Regions from separate parts of the Homo sapiens genome. Here all the other regions are linked to region 1. Evidence: promoter capture Hi-C in 16 types of primary human blood cells and fetal thymus (Javierre and others, 2016). All regions are on one chromosome and are shown on one strand. Each heading gives the region's core, a stretch centred on a gene start or on the middle of the fragment in contact. The rest is flanking DNA. Distances are from core to core; before and after follow the strand shown.

What was found. The method cuts DNA at HindIII sites, captures the fragments that hold promoters and counts their contacts. A CHiCAGO score of 5 or more calls a contact.
Region 2: a contact is called between a fragment that was not itself captured here and the fragment with the promoter of JHY in region 1, in 1 of 17 cell types (M2 macrophages). The highest score is 5.4, in M2 macrophages.
Region 3: a fragment that was not itself captured here is called in contact with the fragment with the promoter of JHY in region 1 in 2 of 17 cell types (total CD8 T cells and naive CD8 T cells); the score reaches 7.5 in total CD8 T cells.
Region 4: a contact is called between a fragment that was not itself captured here and the fragment with the promoter of JHY in region 1, in 1 of 17 cell types (total CD8 T cells). The highest score is 5.8, in total CD8 T cells.

Annotation. Positions count from the first base shown.
Region 1 is chr11:122,881,037-122,884,644 of GRCh38, reverse strand. It overlaps JHY (junctional cadherin complex regulator), which reads right to left and starts at 1,886. Exons shown (of 9, transcript NM_024806.4): 1 at 1,673-1,886. RefSeq lists a silencer at 1,408-1,767. The HindIII fragment of the contact is 12,251 bases long and covers 807-3,608 here.
Region 2 is chr11:123,001,897-123,005,504 of GRCh38, reverse strand. No RefSeq gene overlaps it. Among named protein-coding and RNA genes, the nearest start is that of BSX, 22 kb to the right of the region's middle. The HindIII fragment of the contact is 3,454 bases long and covers 137-3,590 here.
Region 3 is chr11:122,788,275-122,791,882 of GRCh38, reverse strand. UBASH3B (ubiquitin associated and SH3 domain containing B) reads right to left here. Exons shown (of 14, transcript NM_032873.5): 6 at 2,575-2,783. Among named protein-coding and RNA genes, the nearest start is that of CRTAM, 48 kb to the left of the region's middle. The HindIII fragment of the contact is 4,369 bases long and covers 1-3,608 here.
Region 4 is chr11:122,812,876-122,816,483 of GRCh38, reverse strand. UBASH3B (ubiquitin associated and SH3 domain containing B) reads right to left here. Exons shown (of 14, transcript NM_032873.5): 14 at 2,011-3,608. Among named protein-coding and RNA genes, the nearest start is that of CRTAM, 24 kb to the left of the region's middle. RefSeq lists enhancers at 2,676-3,283, 3,284-3,608. The HindIII fragment of the contact is 157 bases long and covers 1,599-1,755 here.

The DNA of each region.
Region 1 (3,608 bases), core at 637-3,136:
TCCAACTCACTTACGAGTGTGATTCAAGTGAACCTGCACTGTCTGTAAGGGTCATTATAAAGAGCCATGGAAAGGGTGCTTTGAGTTCATGTAGGACCGAACGGACATGATGTTTTTGGATTGTGCTTCCTTTCATCTCTACCTAGCATTTCTATTTTGGTCTATTTTCTATCTCACTGCCTTTATACCCATTTTTTTTTTTTCTGTGAGTCAGGTAACAGAAACCTTTACCATTAGAAATTGCTGTAAAATTTGTCTTAATGGCTTGCTCTTGTTCTTTTGGCAAATCCTAACTTTAATTAAATGACACAACCTTATTACTATTCCTAGGATTGCTTATAATGTTGACCTTGTTGCTAATGTTTGCAAGGAGCATCATCAAATCCTTGGAGGAAAGCACCTTAACAAACAACAGGCAAAAGGGAACGTTCATATGTAAATACACACGAAGTGAGTTTTCTATTGAACTCGAAGTCTGCCCTGTTGGTAGACTAACATATTATTCTCTAATATTACAGACTGGTTTGTTGTATTATTTTGTCTCTTATTTTTAAAATACATATTGCATTCTGCCTTATTATTTTAATTGTTGCTTTTTTAGGATGTGCCAAGAAAGCAGCAAATCTATCAAATACTAACACATTTTAAGTAAAAGAGATTGTTTAACACCGGTTTTACTGGAGGAGCTAAGGTCACTGAATTTGAGATCCTGAAGAGCAAGCTTAAGCGTTATAGTGCAACTTAGAATTACTCTTAAAATAATTCAGTCCCTTGAACTTCTCTTCTTAAATGAAATAGGCTAAGCTTTCTTGGAATGAATAAAAAATAAAACAGTAACCACAGAAGATAATTTTGCTGATGTTAGCAGATTCCTGAAGTTTGCTAAAGTATGCAAAGAGCAAAGCCAAACGCCACAAAAGCTGGGTTTTCTGTGGAGGCCTGATCTTACCAAAACATGGGGTGGAAGAAGGAACAGCTGACAGCTTGAATAAGTTAGAAAGTGGGCGTTTAAATTTCATGAATGTGGCTCCCTCCTCCCGTCCAGTGAAAAAAAAAAAAGGTTGTGCCGCTGAAATTTCTGACCAAGAGAGGTGACTAGTCTCCTGAATAAACAAGACAGCGATAGATCCGATGGCACCTAGGGACTAAGAAGCGGCCAGCTCCCCAGGGATCCCTGCAGTGGGTCTAGTCCACTAGCATGGGACAATCGAACTTTCTCCTGGAGGGGAAAAGGAACCCTGCTTGGGCTCACCAAGATGAATCGTAAAGAAAAAGGAACGAACCCTGGTTTGAAACAGGCCGGAAGCTGCCCAGGGGAGGCGTTCGGTTTTCTACCTTTGCTTGTTCCTGAGGAACAAGGCCTGTCACAAGGGGCGTTTGGAGGTCCAGGAAGTGACAAGTCGGCGGGCCTGGTGCCCGGGACCGGTCCTAATTGACCGGGAACAGGGCTGCTCTGGGTGCCCGGGCGCCGAAGCCTCGCATGGCGGCCCCCCAGCCCCTTGTCGCGGCCTCGCCCCCTTGTCGCTCCCCACTCCGTCCCGAAGGCTCCCGCGCCGGCTCCTCCCCAGCTTGCTTGGGTGGTTTCCTGCCGTCCCCATCCCCAGTAAGCCCTTCCCGTTTCCCTCCCCGGGCGCGCCGCCCACCCCAGATCCGGGAGGCCACCGCCCGTCACCTGCCCGGCGCTCCTCCGCGGCCGCGACCCGGACGGGCCCCGCATCCTCCCGCGCCGCCGCCGCCGCCGCCCGGGCCCCCGCCCGCCCCGGCGCTGCCCTGGAGACCGCAGACAACACAGACGCCGGCGCCACATGGGCGGGGCAGGACCCGACCTAGGATCCCGCGTCCCGAACCGCACCCCCGGCCCTGGCACGGAGGCTGCAAACGGCCGTAATAACGACATCGGGGCAGAGCCGGAGGAGCCCGAACGCCCCGGGAGAGGCTGCCTCGCCGCCCGGACTTCCCAGCGCCGGAGGGCAGAGGCCACCCGGGGGAGGAGATCTTTGCCACAAATAAAACTACTAAAATACGCGAGGAACTGCTACAAATCAAGAAGAAAAGGAACCCAATTAAATAATGGGTAAATGGAAAGGTATTTCACAAACACACGAGAAATCTAAATGGCCAATAAATATCTGTTTATTGAAATGATGCTTTAATTCATTAATAATCAGAAGAAGGCCAATTAAAACCACAGCGGATAATACCACACTCACCATAAGTTGAGTCGAAAAGTCCAAAGTTGAAACGTCTGGCAGCGTCAGGTGCTAGGGAGGACGTAGTGCAAAGAACCGTCACCTTCTGCGGGCGGACGTGAGAACCGATGCAACCAACCATTTTGGAAAATGGTTTGACATTAGCCAGGATATGTATGCCTTGGGATCCAGCAATTTCACTTTTAGGTATTTACCCTAAGAAGTGCGTGCTCCTGTGCATGCAAACTGGAAATAACTGAACTATCCATCAAAAGAATGGTTAATTAGATTATGCTATTGCCTATACTGGCATACTACATAGCACTGTAAATGAATGAAATACAACTATGTGTAACAATATGGAGGCATACTAAAAACACAATTTTGAACAACAACAAAAACCCAGAAAAAGTACATACTGTATGATTTTTGTATATAAAAAACAGGCTAAATTACACTCTACAGTGATTGTGGCTCCATACTTAGTGGAGGAAACTATGAAAAAAAGCAAAAAAGCAATTTTATGGGAAACACTACCCACTTAGTGATTCCCATCAAGTTAGGATTGTGGTCGGTTCTGGCAGGTAGGGAGAAGAATGTTTTTGAGACTGTATTTCCTGACCTTAATGATGGTTATATAGATGTTCATCTTGTAAAAATTCATTAAGCTGTACATTTATGTATGGGTAGAATATTTCACTATCAAAAAAGGTTTCAAAAAAGAATAAAGAAAGGAAGCATTAGGAATTATCTTCACATTAAAACAACAAGTAGATTTGAATAACTACCTTCAAAGATTGGTTTGAGGCCAGGTGCAGTGGCTCACCCTGTAATCCCAGCATTTTGGGAAACCGAGCTGGAGGATTGCTTGAGCCCAAGAGTTCAAGACCAGCCTGGGGAAAATGGCAAAACCTTGTCTCTACGAAAATTTTTAACAATTAGTTGAGCGTAGTGGCGCGTGCCTATAGTCCGAGCTACTTGGAAGGCTGAGGTGGGAGGATCACCTGAGCCCAGGAGGTTGAGGCTGAAGTCAGCCAATATTGTGCCACTGCACTCCAGCCTGGGTGAGAGTGAGACCTTGTCAAAAAAAAAAAAAAAAAAAAAAGAGAATTCTTCGGCCAGGCACAGTGGCTCATGCCTGTAATCCCAGCACTTTCGGAGGCCTAGGCGAGTGGATCACCTGAGGTCAGGAGTTCAAGACCAGCCTGGCCAACATGGCAAAACCCCGTCTCTACTAAAAATACAAAAATCAGCTGGGCGTGGTGGTGCACGCCTGTAGTCCCAGCTACATGGGAGGCTGAGGCAGGAGAACTGCTTGAACCGGGGAGGCAGAGGTTGCAGTGAGCTGAGATGTGCCACTGCAATCCAGCCTGGGTGACAGAGCGAGACTCCATCTCAAAAAAATAAAATAAAATAAAA
Region 2 (3,608 bases), core at 614-3,113, 120 kb before region 1:
ATATATGGATTGGTTAGAAATATTGACAAGGTACTAGTGAATGAACAGGGAATTTGCTTCCCTGTGGCCTAGTGGCCTAACCTTTCGAAATAGTGCCCTAGGCTTAGAATTTTGCCTGGTCATGTTTTAGGAAGCTTATACAGGATTTGATTGCCTGGCTCTAAATAAGAAAGGATCTGAAGTCACTGCAAGTGAACCTTGCTTGCCAGATACTTGCAAGTTAGTAGTTCTCAACTGGGGACAATTTTGCTTTCCCCACCAACCCTTCCTGGGGGGCATTTGCAGTGGTCTGGAAACATTTTTGGTTGTCACAATTATAAGCATGTATGTGTGTGAGTATGTAGTGGGTAGAAGCCAGAGATACTGCTAAACATCCCACAATGCACAAGACAGCCCCCACAACAACAACAAAAATGGCCCATTCCAAAATGTCAAGAGTGCCAAGGTTTAGAAACCATGGGAAAGGACACAGCTTCAACTTCACTGAGCTCACAGAACTAATTGCTAATGTTTGTGTGTGTGGCTGACTTTAGGCTGCGCCTCTTTCTCTGTAAATAGACAACTGGACAAGAAGTTGTGGAGAAGTTCATTCCTTTTCTATCTCCACTCTTGGAGGTTACTAACAGCTATCAAAAAGAATCCAAAGATTAAAAGAAAAGTTGAGAAAGAAAAAAGAATACAATATTTCTACATAATCAAGTTGTCTCGAGTAATTTCAAATAGTAGTGTAGGTTTCAGGGTTTTTTTGTGGAAACCTTAAATTTTATTAATTTCAGACTTTAAAAATAAACAACCAGGCCCCACGTGCTTTCACACATTGCTCTCTCGTTTGAAGCCACCATAATCCTTTGAGGCAGCATTATTCCCATCTTACAGAAGAAAACTAGGCTTTCATGACTTGCCAGAGGTTACATGGCTAATATGTGTTTTCCAGTATCTTAACTCAGCTCTCTGCTTCTAAGACTTCAGAGGGGAAACATTTCTGCCATGATTTTTTTTTCTTTTCTTTTCTTTTGAGACAGTCTTGCTGTGTCACCTGGGCTGAGTACAGTGGCTAGATGTCAGCTCACTGCCACCTCTGCCTCCTGGGTTCAAGTGATTCTCCTGCCTCAGCCTCCCCAGTAGCTGGAACTACAGGTGCGCACCACCACGCCTGGCTAGTTTTTGTATTTTCAGTAGAAACAGGGTTTCATCATGTTGGCCAGGCTGGTCTCGAACTCCTGACCTCAAGTGATCTGTCTGCCTCAGCTTCCCAAAGTGCTGGGACTGCGTGTGGCCTGCTATGATTTAACTAAAGGGCTTTGAACGTGTTCCCACCCTATGTCTGATGGATCATAAGATGAAATGGTCCTTAATGGATCATCTGGTCTAGAAATTCTCAAACTTAGACATTAAAGATCAATAACCTTTTAAAAATAATTATATACTTTTATTTTTCCATAGAAAAAAAGTTTTCAAAACCTCCTACCATTTACTTTCAATACCATTTCATTAAAAAAAGGATATTTTAATCCAGGAAAATAGAAAGGAAATAATTTTTCCTTCATTCATTCAACAAATATTGATTGAGTGCCTCTTACATACAGGTATTCTTCTGGGTATTGGAAAACAGAGAACAAGAATATCATCAAAGTCCTTACCCTCTTGGAGCTTACATTCCAACACTATCATCTCAGAAGAAAAGCCCTTTAAATGAAATAAATTAAACTCGAGAGATTCTTTACAGTGTCCTTATTGTTCTCATTTAATTAATAAAAACCTTGTCATGTGTCAGCATTGGTCCATAGACCACCATTTGGGAACTCTGGATCTAGCTGATTTCCAGGGAAAGCATACATCATTATTCTCGCACGGGCTACAACCACGACCAATGATATGAAAAACCATCGTTGTATTTCAGAACAACGAAGTTATCACAGATGGAAGGAAATCAGAACAAAATTTGGATGCAATCTGGATTCTCCTAGGGACAAGAGTTGGTGGCCTAGGTGAGAAATGAATTGTACTATTTACTGTGCACCTCGGGGTAATCTCAGTTGTATTTCTGTGAGTTCCACTTCTGGCTCTTTGGTTCAACAGGTAAAGTGGCATTTTCTAAATCACCTTGCTTTGCCTGCTTTTTCTCCACCTCACTGGTAAGGCTGGAAATGTTCCCAAACACCCTTTGATCTGGCAATCATTGCAGCTCATTAGCAGGCCTGGGAGGCTAAGTTCATTCCACACAGAGGGAAACTGAGCTGCAGGAGGTCACCTGGGAAGGCAGCAATGGCTTGAGGACCAAAACCCAGCTCTTCTGCCTCTATCCATGGATCTGCTCATTGGACAACTCAGAGTAATGCCTGTTCAGAGTAGTAAAGGCCAGAAGTATATTCTCCATGGCCCCACAAGAGCAACCTTGCTTGGATTTCCCCCTAGATTATTTGAGTTCCAACTCTTCAAAATCACCCTTCCCATTTTGCCCAAAGTATGTGCCCCTGGGAGTTCAGGGCAACAAGTTTGCATGGCTAATAACTCTTCCTTCCTGAGCTGCCCAGCAGGCTTAGAAATGGAAATAAAATGTTCAAACACTGAGAGATTATACCAGAGAAAGAGCTCAAGAAAGAGGTAAGAGTGGTCAGGTATGGTGGCTCATGCCTCTAATCCCAGCACTTTGGGAGGCCGAGGCAGGCGAATCACTTGAGGTCAGGAGTTTGAGACCAGCTGGCCAACATGGTAAAACCCTGACTCTACTAAAAATACAAAAATTAGCCATGCATGGTGGCGGGCACCTGTAATCCCAGCTACTCAGGAGGCTGAAGCAGGAGAATCACTTGATCCCGGGAGTCGGAGTTTGCGGCAAGCTGAGATCACGCCCCTGCACTCCAGCCTGGGCAACAGAGCGAGACTCCGTCTCAAAAAAAAAAAAAAAGGTAAGAGCAAGGTGGGAGCAGCCGGAGCTCTGGTAGGAGTTGAAGGTCAAGGCTAGAAGACTGTCCTGTTAGCTCTCCCGGCCACCAAGATCCTGAATGTGAAAATGAGAAGACAGGATCCTTGTCCTACTTTAACAGCCTTCTCTACTCTGTCTGAATATGGTGAATTAGTTTTGTTTTACAGAAAGGGAATTCTGGCTGGCTGGGACCCTTAAAAGACATCATGTGTCTCCCTTGGCCTCCGGGCAGGGGTGTGTTTGCATCACTGCCGGTGCCTCCACTTCCTTTGTCCAGAGCTGTACAGACTGGCTCTTCCATCTAAATGCCTGCTTTTAATCATGACCTTCCCAACTCACCTCCTGTGGCTGGCTGTGGTACATTCGCAAATCTGACCTTGATAATGCATTCAATTTTCTTCATTCATGAGGGAATTCTACCTCAATCACTATTCTACTACAAAGAAGGAGGGCAACTAAGTGATAATAAAAACAGTGGCTAATGCCAACATCTTTCTGTTTGGCACTTGAAGGGATGCACTCTCTGTTAGTCTGTTCTCGCATTGCTGTAAAGAAATACCTGAGACTGGGTAATTTATGAAGAAATGAGGTTTAATGGCTTATGGTTCTGCAGGCTGTACAGGAGGCATAGCAGCTTCCGCTTCTAAGGAGGCCTCAGGAAGCTTCCAATCATGGCGGAAGG
Region 3 (3,608 bases), core at 553-3,052, 93 kb after region 1:
AACTCAGAACCAAGTAAGACACTCCAGTTAGTGTGGAGAGAACATATTTCCTTAGGAGGGACTCAGAGAACTGAGAAGCACTTGGCAGGGAGTGTTGTCAAAATCATTGACCCCCAGTCATGACTTGTTGCCTGGATCCCCTGGGCAACTCCCACCATGCCAGCCAGGCCATGCTTGACATCCCCCTGGGGCTCTACCTCCTGATGTCTCTCTTGGGTTAGGAGAGAGAGAAGGTCTGTGTCTGTCTTACAAGGAAGCTGGGCTCTGCCTCCTTGAGTCATTTGACCTCTGGGGTTAAATAGGAAAGTGCAGTTCATCTACAGGATTGCTTTTATGGAAGACACATTTCCTTTGATGAGCACTAAGTGAGGACTGGCAAACACAAGATAGAAAAAAGAGAATAATCATCATTATGCAAATGGCGATTTTATAGTCACCGCTATACACCAGACTCTGAACCATGTAAAGCTAAGCTCTGTATTGCAGTCTTCCCAACAACCTTATGAGGTAAGTGCAATTATTAGTTCCATTTTCTAGATGAGCAAACAGAGGCTCAGAGAGGTAATGCAACTTTGCCAAGGCCACACAGCTGGTAAGTGGGAGAGTTATCGTTTAAATCCAAGACTATTGGAATCCAGTCTCAAATTCTTAATCACAATAAACTAATGCCTAACTTATTTACCTACTTTGAGCAGGGTTGGCTGTGGAAGCTGTTAGTTTAATTTCAGACATTGTTCTCAGAGACATGACATCATTAGTAATCTCTCGAATAAAAGATGACACAAAGACCTCCCTGGGACGCACTGACCGAAGTCACTCAGGTTCACCTATACATCGGCCTGAGTTGTAATTTAGGGAAGAGTGGGTTTGGATGGAGTGAACTCTAAGAGATCAGCACTGCTTCTCATATACCTCCACTTTTTTTTTTTTTTCAGACAAAGTCTTGCTCTGTTGCCCAGGCTGGAGTGCAGTTGCGTGATCTCAGCTCACTGCAACCTCCACCTCCTAGGTTCAAGTGATTCTCCTGCCTCAGCCTCCTGAGTAGCTGGGACTACAGGTGTATGCCACCACGCCCAGCTGATTTTTTTTTTTATTTTTGGTAGAGACGCGGTTTCACCATGTTGGTTTGGCAGGTCTTGAACTCCTGACCTCAAGTGATCCACCCACCCTGGCCTCCCAAAGTGCTGGGATTACAGGTGTGAGCCACCGCACCTGGCCATACACCCACTTTTAAGAAAGAGATCTGATAAAACAGCAACTCCAAGTACTGTAAAATAAAAAATAACAGATCTGAGAACTGTGCTTTGTCAGGCAAATAATGTTTTAGTTCTCAGTTTATTCACGCATATTTTGCTTTACTTGTTGTTGTAGGGATTAAAATGGAGACTTTGGAAACCCAGCTTATATATTTTGATCTTCCAAAGCATTTCTGAAAAAGCAAAATGTTTGGGGAACATAAGACAGCTTTGACCTCTAATTTTGTGCCATCCAATTCTGGAGGCTCATGGGCTGGGCTGAGGTGGGAGCAGAGTGAGGGAGAGGGGGAGGGATTGCTGGGTGGGGTTATTGAGGAAGAAAATATTCTTTCCCATCTTTGGATTTGTGGTTTGTCTGTTTGTGGCTCACTAGGGTAGGGGACCTTTATTTTCTCCTTCCAGGCAAAAGACTTGATGAAATCATCTCTCTCTGCTTCTCCTTTATGGCAATAATAACAATATTAGCCACCAAGCAGCTGGCGCTCAGGGCTTCTGCCTCTCAGCCATGTTGCCACATGACAAAAACAAGTGGGAGAAAAACAAACCAGCATGCAGACCCTGGCTAGATGCCCCAGTGTGCCAGGGAAGCGCTGGCTTTGAGCTGCTCCAACTAAGAAAGAGAAGATGGCTTTTGTTTCTATTTTATCTATTGGGACAAAGTTGGCCACTGAATGTGGTACCAGTATGGAATGGGGGCAAAATAGTAATGAGGGACGGGTGGAAAGTTATTACCCTAAAGAAGACTGGCAGAGGGGAGGGGGGAAATGGACCCCTTTTCAGTCTGGCAGTTGCCTGTTCCCTTAGACATGGTCTTTGTTGTCTAGGCATGCATAGGCTGTGTCTGGGGACTTGCTCAGGGTCACTTAGCAAATCAAGGATACAGTTAGGGCTCCTGCCTCTTGAAACCCCCTTCTCTATTGGTCTGGATGGCAGGGTAGTAATCCGCCCAGCTGCTTCGGGAAATCAGACCACCCTGACTCATGACCCAGGATAAGGTGGACAGAAGCCCTAAAGCAGTGAAGACGCAGCACTGGGATGATGCCACTCTTCGGCCAGAAGAGATGGACCCCAAGCCACCTCAGTTTAGTCTCTGATCAGGAACTGAAGCAGACAACCATGGCAAATGGGGCAGGCAGAGGGAAGCAGAGCAATCCATTTCGCATTTTCCCCATGCCTCAAATCAGCTCCTTTCCTGGAATTCTGGAATCCACAGGGCCTTCTTCCCATGGACTCCATTTACTGCTGCCCTGTGTATCCAGGATCCAGTCTGCCTTAGCAACATTCTTCAAATGGCATAAAGGTCTTTGTGTCTGCTTACCCATGAAATATCCAGGTGCTGCATTCATCAGCCTTGGTAATGTAATTCTCAGGCAGGAGTCCAGAGCAGCCGGTGGTTAAGGACGTGCCATAGATCCAACCCTCGCTGGTGCTGGTCTGCTCCATTGGAGACATGAAGATGAAGTCCCCGGGGACCAGCTCCAGCTCATCGTCATTTTGTGGGGTATAGGGGTAGATGACCTGTAATGTCTGGAAAAGGAAGAGAGGGTGAGTGAGCCCCATGCCTCACCATTCTCCTGAGCGCCTTGAGGGCAGGACTGTATGTTCTGCATTAATACTGCACACCTCCAGAGGGCGATGTGCCCAGGAGCCCTTGGGGTCTGCAGGCCCTGAGTAGATGTGAATTCCTATCAGAGAGCACTTCTCTCTTCAGGGTATTGACGGTGTATGCCTGGTGCTAGAAATGGTTTCATACTTTTCTTCAGGCATGTCTAGATTTCCCATCAGGATTCAAGTATCGTTTTTGGAAATTGACCTGAAATCCTGTAGGCTCTCTGGCCAACTGCTGTATAAATGGACATGGACCTAGCTTCCCTTGCTTCATCTGATAGTCACCATGATAGACACCTGAAACCCAGCTCATGGAAAGCCAGTCTTCCATACGGGGGTTACAGAGGGGCCAGGTGGAGTGTCTCTCCTCCAGGAAGGCTCAGGGAATGAAGTACCCCCTTTCTGTGTAACATAGCTCTTTATTTATGAATTATTATTATTATTATTTTGAGATAGAGTTTCACTCTTGTTGCCCAGGCTGGAGTGCAATGGCATGATCTCAGCACACTGTAGCCTCTGCCTCCTGGGTTCAAGTGATTCTCTTGCCTCAGCCTCCCTGGTAGCTAGGATTTCAGGCGGCCGCCACCACACCTGGCTAATTTTTGTATTTTTAGTAGAGACAGGGTTTCACCATGTTGGCCAGGCTGGTCTCGAACTCCTGACCTCAGGTGATTCCCCTCTCTTGGCCTCCCAAAGTGCTGAGATTACAGGTGTGAGTCACCATGCCCGGCCAACTTAGCTCTT
Region 4 (3,608 bases), core at 428-2,927, 68 kb after region 1:
ATCACAACATTGCACTCCAGCCTGGGCAACAAGAGTGAAATTCCATCTTAAAAACAAAAACATAAAAACAACAACAACAACAAAAAATGGTCTATGGCTTTTAGAAGTGCAGATTCTAGTTTGAGCTGAATGTGCCCTCTCTCTTACCCAAATTCTCACTCTCTGGATCATTCTTGGTGCAACTCCTTGAGGTAGATGGTGGGTAGTAGTAAACCATGAAGGTGACATGGAGTTCAGGGCACTATACCCGAAAATATTGCATCTCAGCCTATTGAATAGTTTAAGATGAAGGAATCTGAGAAAAAAACAGGAGCAGAAAGGTCACTTTGACTGTTCTCCCCCGCCCCACCCTTCTCCCCTGAATCAGGTGATAAAACCTAGGAAGGACTCTAACCTTTCCTGACGCAGGTCCTGAGAACTTCATGTGAAAGGTGCCTTCCCTAGAGCGGGAGAAAATGAGCACCCTCATCTCTGAAGACAGAGGGACACCCAGGGGAATCTGAACACACAGGCCTCATTAAGTCCTCCCAGTTTATTACCATTAGATCATACTCTTAGTTCTATCACGTTTCTCCATGACTATCTATTCTTCATCAAATTTTGCATTGAAATATTCAGGTTTAACTAGTTTTCTTCAAATCTTCATTTCCTTATGAAGGCTTTTGTGTCATGTGAAGGAAAACAGGGAGCTTCACCCCCAAATATGGCTCCCTGGTATAATGAGTATTTTGGGTTTTTGTTTGTTTGAGTCTCGCTTTGTTGCCCAGGCTGGAGTACTGTCATGGCTCACTGTCAGCTAGACATTCTGGGCTCAAGCGATCCTCCCACCTCAGCCTCCTGACCAGCTGGGACCACAAGTGCACACCACCACACCTGGCTAATTTTTGTATTTTTTTGTAGTGACAGGGTCTTGCTATGTTGCCTAGGCTGGTCTCAAACTCCTAGGCTCAAGCAATTCTCCGGCTCTGATCTCCAAGAATACTGGGATTACAGGTGTGAGCCACCACACCCAGCTGAGTATTTTGAATTAAAGGCCCTTAGAGATCAACAGATGCTAAAAGAAGCCTTTCCCCTATCTACATAAAGACTGGACAGGCCCACCAAGGAGAACAATTGCTTTTCCTTCCTCTATCCCCTCTCAGTCCTCTACCTGTCCCAAAGCACAGGATGAGGTTATTCTCATATCTACCAAAGAAGGAAACAATTACTTCTGGTCCCTTCTCGGAGTTTCCATTGACTGAACTCACATCACAGGATGGAAGACTAAAGTCTGACAACAAACCTGGACAGACTTTTGTCCCAAATGACTGTCCACTCTGTAGGCCTGACCGACTTTGTCCCAGACCATTGTATGTTCTTCAAGTCCATTGAATTTCCTTAAAAATCATTTACTATCTGCCTAAAATCACCCACACCTCCCCATTCTCTTTCCCCTAAGATGTAGGGCATATAAGCATCTGTACCCCGTTGGGAGACTGGGCACTCACTCTGTGATACTCTACAAGCTCACGTAGTTAATAAATTTATTTATGCTTTTTCTATTAATCTGCCTCTTGTCAGTCATTTTCAGTGAACCTTTAGAGGGCAGAGGGAAAGCTTTCCCTTGGCCCCAAGACATGAAAAACTTGTATGCTTTTTCTTTTGTTAATCTATGTTTTGTTATAGGGGCCTCAGCCATGAACCTAGGATAGGTAGAAGGAAATATATTTTTTGTCTCCTAGTTTGCACATAGGGCAGGGGAAGCATTTTGAAGCTTGCTATTTTCACACAGAGTGGGTGTTCAGCTCCCCAGTCTGAATGGCATGGAGGCTTGATGCCTGGTCAGAAGGGTCCAGAGACACACAGTGCTGCTGGAGCATCCTCCCCTTCCATCAGCAGAAAGCGCCCTCTGGCCTTTTGAAAACAGAATCACACTCTGAATGCACATTTATGAAATAATAATGAACAAAGTAACATCTGAAAACATGATAGGAAGAGACCACTCAGAATTTAAAATGACATTGCTCTGGATCAACTGAGAAGTTTCTTTTTATTAAATCATCTATGAACCATTTAATGGAGATGCTCCTGAAAGGTGCATCTGTAATTACAATGGTGCCATAGCTGTATCAACAGGGGAGAGCTCTCAGCCAGGAAAGCACAAGTGCCACGGAGAGTTTACAAAGAATTTGGCAATACAGGTAGGTGTGGTTTTCCTATAACTACAAATAGTCTTCAAATAAATACACCTGAATCACATACAAAAAAAAATACAATAGCCTTATAAATGAGAAAGAAACCAATACACCTCTCCAAAATAACAGGTTTAGAATGATCTGTGTATAACCAAAATGCCTTGGCATGGTGTTTCCATCTTGAGTGGCAATCAAAGAAAGAAGCAGTACATATTTTCCATTATACACATCTATCCTGTACAGAGTCCATGATAGTTGAACAGCTGGAAAATTCCAATTTGTTGTGTAATGGCAGCTAAGTGTAAAGTATTTGCAAGAACTGATTGTATATTAAGTTCGACTAGTCATCACTATAATTTTAAACCTACATACACCAATCCTACTATTATTTGTACTTAAAAATGAAGTTATTTCATCTGCATTTACAATCTTTTTCCCTTTTCGCTTGAATTTTCATTATAGCTAGTCACTTTCCTAGGGAAATTCAATATGTTGAAGTATTAAAGAGAAGCAAATCCAATTTTAATTCTATGTTTAAAAATGAAAAGCTTCTGCTATCACCTAACAAAATATCCCCCATCACCTTTGTAAAGTGAACATTAACCTAAATAGATGTTAAATCGCTCTTTACCCCACCCTCCTCTGCCTGTCTCATCTCTCCCCGCAATGCAGCCTTTTAGACTAGTGCCTCTTCTTTCTCACACGTGTGCTGGATTGCAATTTAAATGCAAATAACCCTGCACCTCATTATCTAAGTTCGTGCAGACTCAGTAACAGTTGCCTGTGCTGAAGGCTGTGAAATCAAACGGAGGTTCATCTGTATTCTAACACATGGATTACTTAGAGTAATTTCAAAAGAGCAATTCATCACTGCTTTGAAATTAAACACTGGACTTGCAGAGTGCCTAGGTTACGGAGGAATGCCTTTCTTTTACCACATAGGGAAGCCTTTCCACAAAGGCAATGAGATAGGAACTTCTTTTACTGTAGCTGTTCAATTAGTTCCCAACAACACTAGGTAATTGAAATAAGAGACTTCATTTTAATACGAATACAGCTAGTTGAGTGGAAAAGACACACTTATGGTAATGTTAAGCACAATGACAAGACAATCTATATGCATTCCAAATACCACTAACAAGGAAATTATCAACAATGATTTACCAAACAGACATCACTCCAGAAGGCATATTTTTTATTTTTTATTTTTTGCAAAATCATCTTTTAAATATAAGGTTACTTTAAAATAATTCTTTGGTTAAAGTATAATTAAAATAAAAAGTAGAAACTCCTCCAAGCCTTTCACTACAGAGTGAAAAATACGCCCCTCTTTCAGCCATCAGATGGCCATTTAATCAGCCATTCAGATTCTATGAATCTAAATGTAATGGAAAACACTGTAATCTGAACTCCATACTGGGGTGAAGCAATAAG